Linked DNA regions of Homo sapiens: regions 2 and 3 are each linked to region 1. The links are contacts of gene promoters, found by promoter capture Hi-C in blood cells and fetal thymus (Javierre and others, 2016). All regions are on one chromosome and are shown on one strand. Each heading gives the region's core, a stretch centred on a gene start or on the middle of the fragment in contact. The rest is flanking DNA. Distances are from core to core; before and after follow the strand shown.

Region 1 (4,493 bases), core at 1,307-3,806:
TTCTCCTGCCTCAGCTTCCCCAGCAGCTGGGACTACAGGCGCCCGCCGCCACGCCCGGCTAATTTTTTTTTTTGCATTTTCAGTAGAGACGGGGTTTCACCATGTTAGCCAGGATTTCTCTATCTCCTGACCTTGTGATCCGCCAGCCTCGGCCTCCCAAAGTGCTGGGATTACAGGCGTGAGCCACCGCGCCCGGCCTCTGGAGTCATATTTTTAACCCCATATATTTAATAACGTATTTCCATTAACTCAATATGTTCAAAATATCACTTCAACATATAATCGACATAAAAAGTCATCAGCAAGGACCGGGCCTGGTGGCTCACGCCTATAATCCCAGTACTTTGGGAGGCCAAGGCGGGTGGATCCCGTGAGCAACTTACCAGATCCCTGGGCAACATAGCAAAACTCCCTCTCCACAAAAAAATTACACAAACTAGTCGGGCGCGAGGAGGCGCGCCTGTAGTTCCAACTACCCGGGAGGCGAGGTTGCAGCCACTGCAGCACTTCGGCCTGGGCGATAGAATGAGAGCCTGTCTCACACGCACAAAAAATTATCAAGCTATTTCAGCCGGTGTGGTGGCGAGTGCCTCTAGTTCCGGCTGCTGGGGAGGATGGCTTGAGGCTGCAGTCGGCAGGGATCATGCCATGGCACTCCAGCCTGGGCAATAGAGAGACCCTGTCCCTAAAAAAAAGAAACAGTATCCAATAGCTATTTATTTATTTATTGAGTCAGGGTCTCACTCTGTCGCCAAGGCTGGAGTGCAGTGGTGCGATCGCAGCTCACTGCAACCTCTGCCTCTCAGGTTCAAGTGATTCTCCTGCCTCAGCCTCCCGTAGGCCCGGCTAATATCTGTATTTTCAGTAGAGACGGGATTTCACCATGCTGGCCAGGTTGGTCTCGGAATTCCTGACCTCAGGTGATCCGTCCACCTCCGCCTCCCACAGGGCTGGGATTACTGGTATGAGCCATAGCGCCCGGCCAGTAACCATTTACTGAAATAGGGCTAGTCTCTCAGTGAGAGAGCACGGAAAAACCACAAAGTATCTTTTTTTTTTTTTTTTTTTTTTTTTTTTTTTTTTTTGAAACAAAGTCTTGCTCTGTCGCCCAGGCTGGAGTGCAGTGCCGTGATGTCGGCTCACTGCAACCTCCCCCTCCCGGGTTCAAGCTATTCTCCTGCCTCAGCCTCCCGAGTAGCTGGGGTTACAGAAACCCGCCATCGCGCCCGGCTAATTTTTTCCATTTTTAGTAGAGCTGGAGTTTCGCCATGTTGGCCAGGCTGGTCTCGAACTCCTGACCTCAGGTGATCCGTCTGCCTCAGCCTCCCAAAGTGTTGCGATTACAGGCGTGAGACACCGCGCCAGCTTCCCCCCGCCCCCATCCCCCCCCCTTTTTTTTTTTTTTAACGACTCGAGGTGCGCTGGCTCACGCCTGCAATCCCAACAGTTCGGGAGACGAAGGCGGGAGGATCGCTTGAGCCCTGGGCTTGGGCCACCTTGGGCAACACAGCGAGACCCCATCGCAACAAAAATTTACAAAAAAAAGCCAGGCGTAGTGGCGCGCGCCTGTGGTCCCAACTACTGGAGAGGCAGAGGGGAGCCACCACACCCGGCTAATTTTTTTATTACTTGCGGAGACGGGGGCTCGCTACGTTGCCCAGGCTGGTCTCGAACCCCTGAGCTCAAGCGATCCTCCCGCCTCAGCCTCCCAAAGTGCTGCGATTGCTGAGATTACACGCGTGAGCCACTCCCACCTGGCTACAACTCAGTAGTTATACAAACTACCCTCTATGAAATTCAGACAATAATACACCAACTGCTGTCTTGGAGATTTATTGGCAACAAGGCGCCACGATAAGCATCCTACGGCCATTACTTCCTTCCCCCCACCAGGACTGACCCCTCGCCCGTACCCACCGCCCAGCGCCTCTTTTACCACATGTTTAGGACAAATTGTCACATTCGACTTTGAAAACCACCCACGGAAAGCAAGCGCGATCACCCCTACCTCAACGCTGAGGTACCGAGGCCCAGAGAGGTCGGCAACTTAAAGTTGATTTACCAGAGACAGAAATCGGCACCCACCCGGGTCCTTCCCTTCCCGCACCCCCAAATTCTACGGCCTTTCCGGGCAACGCCAGCAACAGGGGCAACTTGCCGCTTCCCGACCCCCGGACGCCCCGCAGTATTCAGGCTCCCCTCACTTGCGAACGTATTTCCGGGCTTCTGTCTCGTCATAAAACTGCGAAAAAGAGAAAATGGCATGTAGAGGAATAATTCAGACGCGGTGGCCGCAGAAGTGGGGAGAGGGGTGTCCGCGGGCCCCGGGACTTACCAGCTCTGGGGGTCCGCCATGCTCCGGACGCCGGCCGCGGGACGCCATTCTCACGCCTCAGCAGCACACCTGCGACTGGCGCCTGCCGGCACCCGGTTTTTATGTCATCAGCCCGGCGACCGCTTAGTAATACGCATGTTCCACCCCCACGACCGCCCCGCCCCCCCCTTTACGTGACTGGCCACAGGGCGACCAACCGACTCCTCTCATTGGCCGGTTTCTCTTGCACCGCCTGCCGAATCAATTCAACATGGCAGCCATGCGCTGGCGATGGTGGCAGCGGCTGTTACCTTGGAGGTTGCTGCAGGCCCGTGGCTTTCCACAAAATTCTGCACCCAGCCTGGGCCTAGGAGCGAGGACTTATTCCCAGGGCGACTGCTCGTATTCGCGCACGGCGCTGTATGATCTGCTCGGCGTCCCCTCCACAGCCACGCAGGCCCAAATCAAGGCGGCTTACTACCGTCAGTGCTTTCTCTACCACCCGGACCGCAACTCCGGGAGCGCGGAGGCCGCCGAGCGCTTCACGCGCATCTCCCAGGCCTACGTGGTGCTGGGCAGTGCCACCCTCCGTCGCAAGTATGATCGCGGCCTACTCAGCGACGAGGACCTGCGCGGACCTGGCGTCCGGCCCTCCAGGACGCCCGCACCCGACCCCGGCTCGCCGCGTACCCCGCCGCCCACCTCTCGGACCCACGACGGTTCTCGGGCCTCCCCCGGCGCCAACCGCACGATGTTCAACTTTGACGCCTTCTACCAGGCCCACTACGGGGAACAACTGGAGCGGGAACGGCGCCTGAGGGCCCGGCGGGAGGCCCTTCGCAAACGGCAGGAGTATCGGTCCATGAAAGGCCTCCGCTGGGAGGATACCCGAGACACGGCTGCCATTTTCCTCATCTTTTCAATCTTCATCATCATCGGCTTTTATATTTAATCGGAGAGAGAAGGGAAGGGGAGTGTCCCCAGCCAACCCCCCAGAAACGGCCTTTTTTCCTGCCTCTGAACCCTTGGCCATTGATAGTCTACCTTTGCTGGGATCCGAAGGAACTGTACTCCCCCTGCCCTCCCCGACCCGCCCAGCTTAGCCGATGACCTGCACATCGCTCCACTGTGGTCCAGAAAAGGAGGCCTTTCGATGTCTGAGAAAGAGGCCCCACGCTGTAGAGTCCCGAAAGCCCAGGAGTGAAGGGGGTTCCTGGAGTCTCTAGGGTGCTTCTTCCAGAGTCTGTCTTCTTGCTTCCAGATGTGGTCAACTTCTGGAACACTCGCTGTAGCTTTATTGTTTAGCCCCAAGCAAGATTTATCTCCTCCTGCCCCGCATGTGTATGGTGGGCCTCTGTAACCTTGAAATGTGCAATGTGACCAATTGTTGACTACCAAAAGAAAAGGTCTGGGGTTGTACGAAACTTGTCTTTCTGTGACTTCCCCAAGCCGCAGGTGAGACCTGGTCCAGGGTAAGAATGGGATCGGTGGAGAGCCTGTCGTTCCTCCCGCTAAGGTCAGCCCCCTGGGGCACTCCTCCTTATGTTGATAGCATGTAGGAGTGAGAAAAAGTCATTGAGCATAAGGAATGAGTGTTCCTGTGCCCATATTTAATGTGTGACCTTGGAGAAGTTACTCTGTAGGCATGACAGCAGAGGAGAAAATCATTTGGCATCTTGAGGTCTGTCATGCTTTATTATCCATAGTTTTTGGGGGGTTTTTTGTTTTGTTTTGTTTTTGAGATGGAGTCTTGCGCTCTGTTGCCCAGGCTGGAGTGCAGTGGTGCGATCTTAGCTCACTGCAACCTCCACCTCCCGGGTTCAAGCGATTCTCCTGCCTCAGCCTCCTGTGTAACTGGGATTACAGGCTCCCACCACACCTGGCTAGTGTTTTGTATTTTTAGTAGATACGGGGTTTCACCATGCTGGCCAGACTGAGGTCTCGAACTGCCGACCTCAGGCTGTCTGCCCGTCCAGCCTCCCAAAGTGCTGGGATTGCAGGCATGAGCCACTGCTCCCGGCCCTATTATCCATAGTTCTAATCCACAGGGATTACAGCATAATGCTAGCAGGGCCAGGTTCATCCTTGAGACAGTGTGGCTGGCTGTCACCTGGTCCTCCCTTTACCAGCCAGCCCCATTGCACACTGTGCAGCCCATCCCCTCCCAGAAATAGAGTGA
Region 2 (4,493 bases), core at 707-3,206, 340 kb after region 1:
TCGAGTTCTCAGGAGAAAGAAGATGAACAGAAGCTTGACACGTCAAAGCCCAGCTCTATCAACCATCACATTCATGACTCTACTCAGTCTCATGTTCCAAGCAACTGCAAGGAGAGTTTCACATAAAACATGAAAAAAAAAGGTTTTTTAAAAAATAAATTTAGGCTGAGCGCCACGGCTCACAGCTGTAATCTCGGCTACTCAGGAGGCTGAGGCAGAAGAATCGCTTGAACCTGGGAGGCGGAGCTTGCAGTGAGCTGAGATCGCACCACTGCACTCCAGCCTGGGCAACAGAGTGAGACTCTGCCTCAAACAAACAAACAAACAAATAAATAAATAAATAGCTCAAGGCCCCCTGAACCTATACATTTAACCCACAGGTCTGGGCGAACTTTCTTCTCACGGGAAAGGTAGGCGTGCAGCACGTGCATCCTGCACTACCGTTGTGTTGTTCTTTACAGCAAGGAACTTGTCTACCCCTCGTCCACCCTCAGCTGCAGACAGCCACCATTCACTTGGGGGTGGAGGAGAGCAGCACGCTTCTCCATCCGGAAGCCTGTGTGCCACCCTGGCCCTTTGATTACCTTCAACTTTCTCCTGCTGTAGAACCATCGCCACAGGGCGCGAACATGCGGTGCCACATTTCTTTCTCTTTATCCACATAGTCCCTGTAACAGCTGGAGAGGGAAATACACACTTGTTAGAGGAGGTCTGTGTTTGGAGGAGGTGACATCTGGTGGCTGGAATTCTCCACTCACATCCAGAAACACTGAAAATTTATCAGGACTCAAACTGAGTTGGGAGGGATGGAAGTAAGCTGGAGAGGTGGGGAGGCAGGGAAGGCTCCCACAGCTGGCCAAGGAGCCAAGCCCCTGGACAAAACCCCCTAACTGGAAAGGACAGCTGCCTTGAAGGGCAGGTGCCTCTGGCCACCAGGCTCCGGGCTGAGTCTCGCCAAACGACCCCTCACCCTCAGCAGCCTCTAACCTCTCCTGATTTTCTCACTAAAGAATGACCAGATCTGACAGGATACTTTTAAATACCAGAAAGGAAATTGCTGGCAAGTCCTAAAAGGCTTGAAATGTAACCTAAGAGATACTCACATCTCAGACACTAATGCCAAGCAAGCTTTAACTAGCAATCTGGACCGAATGTTTAATATTAAGACAAGTAGAGAATTTCACCATTACAGAAGAAGATATACCTTAAAAACCATGGACCTATTACCAAGTGATGGAGTTATGGGGGACTCCTATTTATAGGTAGACATTTTCAAGGTTTTCTACAATGGACACAAAACTTCTATAATGAGAAAAAATTACATCACTAAAAGACTGGTGTGCTTAGTCACGTGGGTAACAAGGAGGTCAATCCATGGGTATGAGTCAGACCCGAAACGCCTGTTTCTGGTCACATGAGGACCTACGAGGGGCCTTTCTGCACTTGGTTAGGAGCAGTGGTTCTTGGTGGAGCACGCAGGGAAGAGCGCACCAGAAGACTCTTTTTAAGTGACACCGGGGCCAGTTGTGGTGGCTTGTGCCTGTAATCCCAGCACTTTGGAAGGACGAGGTGGGGGGATCACCTGAGGTCAGGAGTTTGAGACCAGCCTGGTCAACACGGTGAAACCCTGTCTCAACTAAAATACAAAAACAATTAGCCAGATGTGGTGGTACACGCCTGTAATCCCAGCTACCTTGGAGGCTGAGACAGGAGAATCGTCTGAACTCGGGACGCGGAGGTTGCAGTGAGCCGAGATCATGCCATTGCCCTATAGCCTAGGTGACAGAGAGGGACTCCATCTCAAAAAAAAAAAAAAAAAGTGACACCCTCCCACCTCTCTAGGGGTTGTTTATTTGCGGTAGGGGAAACAGAAAGGTGGGCGATGATGGAGATGTATAGTCTGGCAGTCTGTCTCACCTGCTTGCTGGGAACTGCTGGTGCAGCGCACGGCCGAGCACTTCAGAAACCCAGCTGTAGAGGGGGCGGCCTCCTAACACTCTGGGCAACACCGCCAGACTGTCCTTTGTTGGGGGGGGTGGGGGGACAGACCAGAGTCACAACCCCACCCATCTCTCTTCATGCTCCTGCAAACACAGCTCACCTAGCCAGTTTCTTCAGCTCATTATTGATGTCATGATTGAAGGGTTGCTCCTTCTGGGCTCGAACTAGAAAATCCCGGGCCTTTTGATACTCAGTCAGGAGAAGACAAGCCTGTCCCAAGGAGAGAACTTTAAAAGCACAGTTAGAAAAGATATCATTTGGCTGGGCACGGTGGCTCATGCCTGTAATCCCAGCACTTTGGGAGGCCAAGGCGGGCGGATCAACTGAGGTCAGGGATTCCAGACCAGCCTGGCCAACACGGCAAAACCCTATCTCTACTAAAACTACAAAAATTAGCTGGGTGTGATGGCGCATGCCTGTAATCCCAGCTACTTGAGAGGCTGAGGCAGGAAAATTGCTTGAAGCCAGGAAGCGGAGGTTGCAGCGAGCCGAATTTGCGCCACTGCACTCCATCCTGGGCAACAAGAGCAAAACTCTGTCTAAAAAAAAAAAAAAAAAAAAAAAAGACAGCATTTTTGCAGTAGCTGAGTTGAGCACTGCTACTACCTTTTCCTGGGTGTTTATTCCCAAGTCACTGGCTTCCAACTCACCTGTCCACACCTGAAGAGGGCCTTGGCATTCTTTTGGTCAATGATCAAAGCCTGCTCTCCATAGCACAGGGCTATGGTGGGTCGGTCTAGCTTCAGGTATGTAAAGGACAGGTTCAGGAGAACAGGAAGCTTGGCGGCCTCCACCAGGTGCTGCTCTTCAGGGGGTGCTGATCGCCGGCGCAGAAGCAATAGGGCCTGTGGAGAGGGAAGGCAGATGGTCAAGAGGAGTAACAGTCTTATGTACAAAACCCTAAAGAATCCACACGCAAAAACTATCAGAGCTAAAAATCGGCTGTTACAGGTTGCAAGACACAAGATCAACATAAGAAGTCAGGTATATTTCTTTTTTCTTCTTTTTTCAGACGGAGTCTTGTTCTGTCGCCAGGCTGGAGTGATCTCAGCTCACTGCAACCTCCGCCTTCTGAGTAGCTGGGACTACAGGTGTGCACCACCATGCCCGGCTAATTTTTTCATATTTTAATATGACCATTTTGGCCAGGATGGTCTCGATCTCCTGACCTCGTGATCCACCTGCCTCAGCCTCCCAAAGTGTTGGGATTACAGGCGTGAGCCACCATGCCCGGCCAAAAGTCAGGTATATTTCTATGCTCTAGCAACGAACTACCCAAAAATGAAATTAAGAAAACAACTCCATTTACAATAGCATCAAAAAGAATACAGTAAGTAGCAATAAACTTAAAACAACTGAAAGACTTGCACACTGAAAACTACAAAATGGTTGTTGAAAGAAATTAAAGATGATTCAAATAAAATGGAAAAATATCTCATGTTCATTAATTGGAAGACAATATTAAGATGGTAATATTTTCCTAACTGGTCAACATATTCATGCAACCCTACCAAAATTTCAACAGCCTTTTTTGTAGACACAGACAAGTTGATTAGATAATTCATATGGTGGCCAGGCACAGTGGCTCATGCCTGTAATCCCAGCACTTTGGGAGGCTGAGGCGGGCAGATCACCTGAGGTCGGGAGTTCGAGACCCGTCTGGCCAACATGGTGAAACCCCATCTCTACTAAAAATACGAAATCAGCTGGGTGTGGTGGCAGGTGCCTGTAATTCCAGCTACATTGGAGGCTGAGGCAGGAGAATCACTTGAACATGGGAGGCGGAGGTTGTGGTGAACCGAGACCACACCACTGCACTCCAGCCTAGGTGACAGTGCAAGACTCCACCTCAAAAAAAAAAAAAAAAAAAGAGTCACATGGAAATTCAAAGGACCCTGAATAGCCAAAATACTCTTGAGAAAGGACAAAGCTGGAGAACTCATATTTCCCATTTCAAAACTTACTAAAAGACAAAAAATAAACAAAAAACACGAAACTTCCTAAAGCTACAGTAATTACGCCAGTGTAGCACCGGCATAAGGACAGACATGTAGATCAATGAAATTGAACACAGAGTCCAGAAATAGATTTATATATCTACAGTCAACTGATTTTCAATAAGGGTGTCCAGACCATTCAATGGGAGAGAACTGTCTTTTCAACAAATAATGCTGGGACGAGAGACTATCAACATGCAAAAGAATGTTTACCTTGCACTAGATGCAAAAATTAACTAAAGTGGAGCATAGCCCTAAAAGTAGGAGTTAAAACTCTAAGACTCTGCGCTGGCTTCGGCAGCACATATACTAAAAATTGGAAAGACAGGGAGAAGATCGCATGGCCCCTGTGCAAAGATGACATGCAAATTCATAAAGCATTTCATATATTTTTTTAAAAAACTATCAGACTTTAGAAGTACAAATAGGTGTAAATTTTTGTGACCCTGGATTAGAAAATGGTTTCTTAGATATAACACCAAAAGCACAAATAAG
Region 3 (4,493 bases), core at 977-3,476, 330 kb before region 1:
CGGCCTCCACCCCTCTCTGCATCTCTGTCTCCCTCTCTGTCCATCTCCCCATGTTCTTGTCTGCATCTTTCTCTGCACCCCGGGGTCTACTCCTGCAGGGTCTGAGGCTCTCATTCCCTGGGTTTGCATTACATTGTTTATCCAGAAGAGATCCAGCTGCCTGAACTCTCCTGCCAGCTCCCAGAGGAAGAAGCATGCTCAGTGGGGTGGTCCCCCTGGCCCCTCATGCAGGTTTTGGCTTTTGGCTCTGGGCAGACACTGCTTTTCTCTGCCTTGTGCTCTCTCCTTGAAATCACCGGGGCAGCCTGGATGGTCTTCCTCCTGCCCCCTGCCCCTCCCAGAGGAGATTGAAGCCTGCTGGGGATGTAGCAGTGAGGGTGAGTGTGTCTGTGTGTGTCTCTGTGTCAGTATATCTGTGGATGTGAGGCACTGTGTGTGCATGTTGTCATGTTGACTTTTGCCAGATGACATCTGCTCACGCAACTGCTAATGCAACTCATAAGAGTATTTTATTTATTTTTGAGACAGGGTCTTGCTCTGTTATCCAGGCTGCAGTGCAGTGGTGCTATCATAGCTTACTGCAGCCTCAGCCTCCCGGGCTCAAGTGATCCTCCCGCCTCAGTCTCCCGAGTAGCTGGGACTACAGGTGTGCACCAACACGCCCGGCTACTTTTTAAATTTTTTGGACTTGGGGTCTCATTATGTTGCCCAGGCTGGTCTCAAACTTCTGGCCTCAAGTGATCCTCCCATCTTGGCCTCCCGAAGTGCTGTGATTACTGGCGGGAGCCTCTGCGCTGGGCTCCCAGTGTGATTTTAACTTTAATTTCCCTGATGAGTAATGATGGCGCACACTTTCTCACACGCTTTTTGGGCATTTGATTATCCTTGTTTGTGAAGTGACTTTTTACGTCTTATGCACATTTTTGAAAATAGGATTGATATTTCCTTATGATGCGTGGAGTTCTTTATGTTGATACAATTCTGCAGTTAGCTATCTGTGTGAGAAAGATCTTCTCTCAATCTTTGGCTTGCCTTTATTTATATTTATTTTGATTGTTTGTAGAGATGGGGGTCTTGCTATGTTGCCCAGGTTGGCCTTGAACTCCTGGCTTCAAGCGATCCTCCCACCTTGGCCTCTCAAGGCACTGGGATTATGAGCATGAGCCACCCTGCCTGGCTTGCCTTACTTTTAATGCTGTCTTTTGATGACTACAATTCCTTAATTTTAACAAAGTCAAATGTATCCGTCTTTTCTCTAGGGGTTAGTGCTTCATCTGTCCTGTTTAAGAAATCTGTGCCCACCTGAAGGTCATGAAGATAATCTGTTAAGCTTTATTTTAGAAACATTACAGTTTTCCCTTTCACAATTAGGTCTATGACCTACGTTGACACAGCATTTTAAATCCCCCCAGAGCCAGGACTTGGCCTGTCTACCCTCACCCTTCCCAAAGCGTGGTGGCCTCAGCGTTTGGAAAAAAAACTCTTCCCTCCTGGGTCGTCAGCTGCACAGCCTCTTTCGAGGGCCCCAGCCCTTCCTCCAGCCCCTGGAATTAATAAAAGCTCTGAGCTGCCTGTGGTTTTCAGGCTGAGAGCTGGTTCCAACGCCTGTTAGGATTCAGGCAGCAAGCTGGGGGCCACCATCCTTTCTCCATGTGGGTTTTTGTGTTCCCTCTCCTGGTGGTGGAGAAGCTCACCCATTCATGGAACTCTGAGGGTCCCCAGACCAGAATAAGGAATCTCTCTTTCTTTTTCTTTTCTTTTCTTTTTTTTTTTTTTTTTTGAGACAGACTCTCACTCTGTCACTCAGGCTGGAGTGCAGTGGTGCGATCTCGGCTCACTGCAACCTCCATCTTCTGGGTTCAAATGATTCTCCTGCCTCAGCCTCCCAAGTAGCTGGGATGACAGGTGCCTGACACTGTGCCCCGCTAACTTTTGTATTTTTAGTAGAGATGGGGTTTCGCCATGTTGGCCAGGCTGGTCTTGAACTCCTGACCTCAAGCGATCCGCCCCCCTCAGCCTCCCAAAGTGCTGGGATTATAGGTGTGAGCCACTGTGCCCAGCCCGGAATTAGGAATCTTTAAAGAGCCCTGGCTGGGTGAGGTGGCTCACGCCTGTAATCCTAGCACTTTGGGAGGCTGAGGCAGATTGCTTGAGGTCAGGAGTTCGAGACCAGCCTGGCCAACAAGGTGAAACTTCGTCTCTACTAAAAATACAATTAGCCAGGCATGGTGGCACATGCCTATAGTCCCAGCTGCTTGGGAGGCTGAGGCAGGAGAATCACTTGAACATGGGAGGTGGAGGTTGCAGTGAGCCGAGATCGTGCCAGTGCACTCCAGCCTGGGTGACAGACGGAGACTCCTTCTCAAAAAAAAAAAAAAAAAAGAAAAGAAAAAAGAAAAAAAAAAGAGCATCTTATCTAGTCCCTCCTTACTCCTCCCTAAACTCTCCCTACAGCCTGGATTTCTCTCAGCTGCCTCTCTCTTTAATGGGCTGGGGGAGCTCATTCCAACCAGTATGGCAGATAGGTTCCGTCACCAACTGTGTTTGATGGGCAATGGCCATCAGAAGTGGTGTTAAGAAGGATTCTGAGGATATCCAGTCTCAGCAGACGGGAATCACACAGTCAATGGGTCATGTCTGCTGGGAGCAAGAAGTGGGAGGTATGGCCTATACTTTGTGTCTTAAATGACCCTGATCTAGTCTAAATCCCTTATTAGGATTAATCCAAAGTAGAGTTTAAATGATTCATTCAATGGTACTCAGGCATCAATTAACAGAGATGGTTTGTCTGGGCGCAGTGGCTCACGCCTGTAATCCCAGCACTTTGGGAGGCTGATGTGGGAGGATTCCTTGAAGCCAGGAGTTAGAGATCAGCGTGGGCAACATAGCGAAACCCCCATCTCTGCAAAAAACAAACAAAACAATTAGCTGGGTATGGTGGTATATGCCTGTACTCCAGCCATGCAGGAGGCTGAGGTAGGAGGCTCACTTGAGTCCAGGAGCTCAAGGCTGCAGTGAGTCATGACTACGTCATTGCGCTCCAGTCTGGGCAACAGAGTGAGTCTCTGTTTCTAAAAGAAAAAAAATAATAATAATGATAATAAGATAGTTTAGAAGCTTGGCTATTACCCATTTAACAGAAAGGCACTTACTTGTTTATTCAGCAAATATTGATTTAGCAACTACTAATTTCTGTTCCTGTGCTGAGCATTGAGAATATGATGGTGAATCCAATCTAGTCTGATGTCTGCCTAATTCTGCGTTTCTCCCTTGACTCCAATATTCAATGTATGGACTTAATGGAGCCATCTCACGGGATAGTCACTTACCATCTGGTGAGCCAGCTGTTCCTGGGGTGGGATTATAATAAAATTTTTAAAAAATGGAACTTGGGGCCAGGTGTGGTGACTCATGCCTATAATCCCAGCAATTTGGGAGACCAAGGTGGGCGGATCACTTGAGCCCGGGAGTTCGAGACCAGCCTGGGCAATATGGCAAAACCCCATTTCTACAAAACACACACACACACACACACACACACACACACACACAAAATTAGCCAGACTTAATGGCGTGTGCCTGTAGTCTCAGCTACTTGGCGGGGCTGAGGCTGGAGGATCGCTTGAGCCTGGAAGGTGGAGGTTGCAGTGAGCTGAGATCGTGCCACTGCACTCCAGCCTGGGTGACAGATTGAACCCTGTCTCAAAAAAAAAAAAAAAAAAAAAGAAAATAAAAAAGGAAGTTGGTGGGTAACTGGGGTTCTGAGGTTGTACTGTTTCTCTCCAAGTACCTTTGCAGAAAGAGGTCCCCAAATAAGGCCTGTAAATGAAAAGATGTGAAAACACAAATCACTAATGAAATGGACCAGGGGGGCTCCTGGGTTTCTATGATGGTCCTTGGAGACTGTTCGGGCACCATTCAGCACCATTCGGTCCTCCCCTGGTTCTGCCCACCTGCAATGCCTGTCTCCCTCTGAGCCGGCCTCAGGACCTTCCGCCCTTCCCCAGACACGCCCTTCCCCAGACACCCCCTTCCCACTACACCCCTGTGGTTAAAAGCAGAGGCTCTGAGTCCACATGGCGCAAGTTCAAGTCCCTCTTGTTCCACTTTGGGCACTTTGACCTTGGGCAAGGTACCCTCCCTGAGCTTCAGTTTCCTCATCTCTTAGAGAGGGTGTGGCAGGGAGTCAGGGAGCTCAAGCACATTGCATGCATGCAAGCACAAAATAGCTGCTCAGCAAAATCTTAGCTACAGCCCTGCTCAGATCCCTGGTTCAGGGCCGTTTGGAGAAACTGGGGCAGTAAAAAGAGGTGTGGCCCCGTCCTGGGGCTCCATAGAAAATTCATTTCTGCATCCTCTACGTGGAGCTTTGCACTGAGCCTCGGAAATGGTAGAGACTCGATCAAGGCCTGTAACAGGAGGGAGAACCAGGGTTTTGTTCTCAACTTTCTGCTTCTTTCCTTGTGGGAAAACCCAGATTTGTTTCAGGGGAG

Evidence for each region. The method cuts DNA at HindIII sites, captures the fragments that hold promoters and counts their contacts. A CHiCAGO score of 5 or more calls a contact.
Region 2: a contact is called between a fragment that was not itself captured here and the fragment with the promoter of DNAJC30 in region 1, in 1 of 17 cell types (erythroblasts). The highest score is 5.0, in erythroblasts.
Region 3: a fragment that was not itself captured here is called in contact with the fragment with the promoter of DNAJC30 in region 1 in 3 of 17 cell types (M0 macrophages, endothelial precursors and erythroblasts); the score reaches 5.9 in M0 macrophages.

The regions. Positions count from the first base shown.
Region 1 is chr7:73,681,516-73,686,008 of GRCh38, reverse strand. It overlaps DNAJC30 (DnaJ heat shock protein family (Hsp40) member C30), which reads left to right and starts at 2,556. Exons shown (of 1, transcript NM_032317.3): 1 at 2,556-4,493. The coding sequence starts at 2,586. The coding sequence ends at 3,266. It overlaps BUD23 (BUD23 rRNA methyltransferase and ribosome maturation factor), which reads right to left and starts at 2,412. Exons shown (of 12, transcript NM_017528.5): 1 at 2,336-2,412; 2 at 2,205-2,242. The coding sequence starts at 2,383. RefSeq lists enhancers at 5-854, 855-1,704, 2,635-2,804, 3,045-3,134. The HindIII fragment of the contact is 21,940 bases long and covers 1-4,493 here.
Region 2 is chr7:73,338,991-73,343,483 of GRCh38, reverse strand. FKBP6 (FKBP prolyl isomerase family member 6 (inactive)) reads right to left here. Exons shown (of 9, transcript NM_003602.5): 6 at 2,652-2,846; 7 at 2,102-2,211; 8 at 585-677. The coding sequence ends at 587. It also overlaps the pseudogene RNU6-1080P. Among named protein-coding and RNA genes, the nearest start is that of FKBP6, 13 kb to the right of the region's middle. RefSeq lists an enhancer at 425-1,369. The HindIII fragment of the contact is 1,652 bases long and covers 1,131-2,782 here.
Region 3 is chr7:74,014,384-74,018,876 of GRCh38, reverse strand. No RefSeq gene overlaps it. Among named protein-coding and RNA genes, the nearest start is that of ELN, 12 kb to the left of the region's middle. The HindIII fragment of the contact is 1,787 bases long and covers 1,333-3,119 here.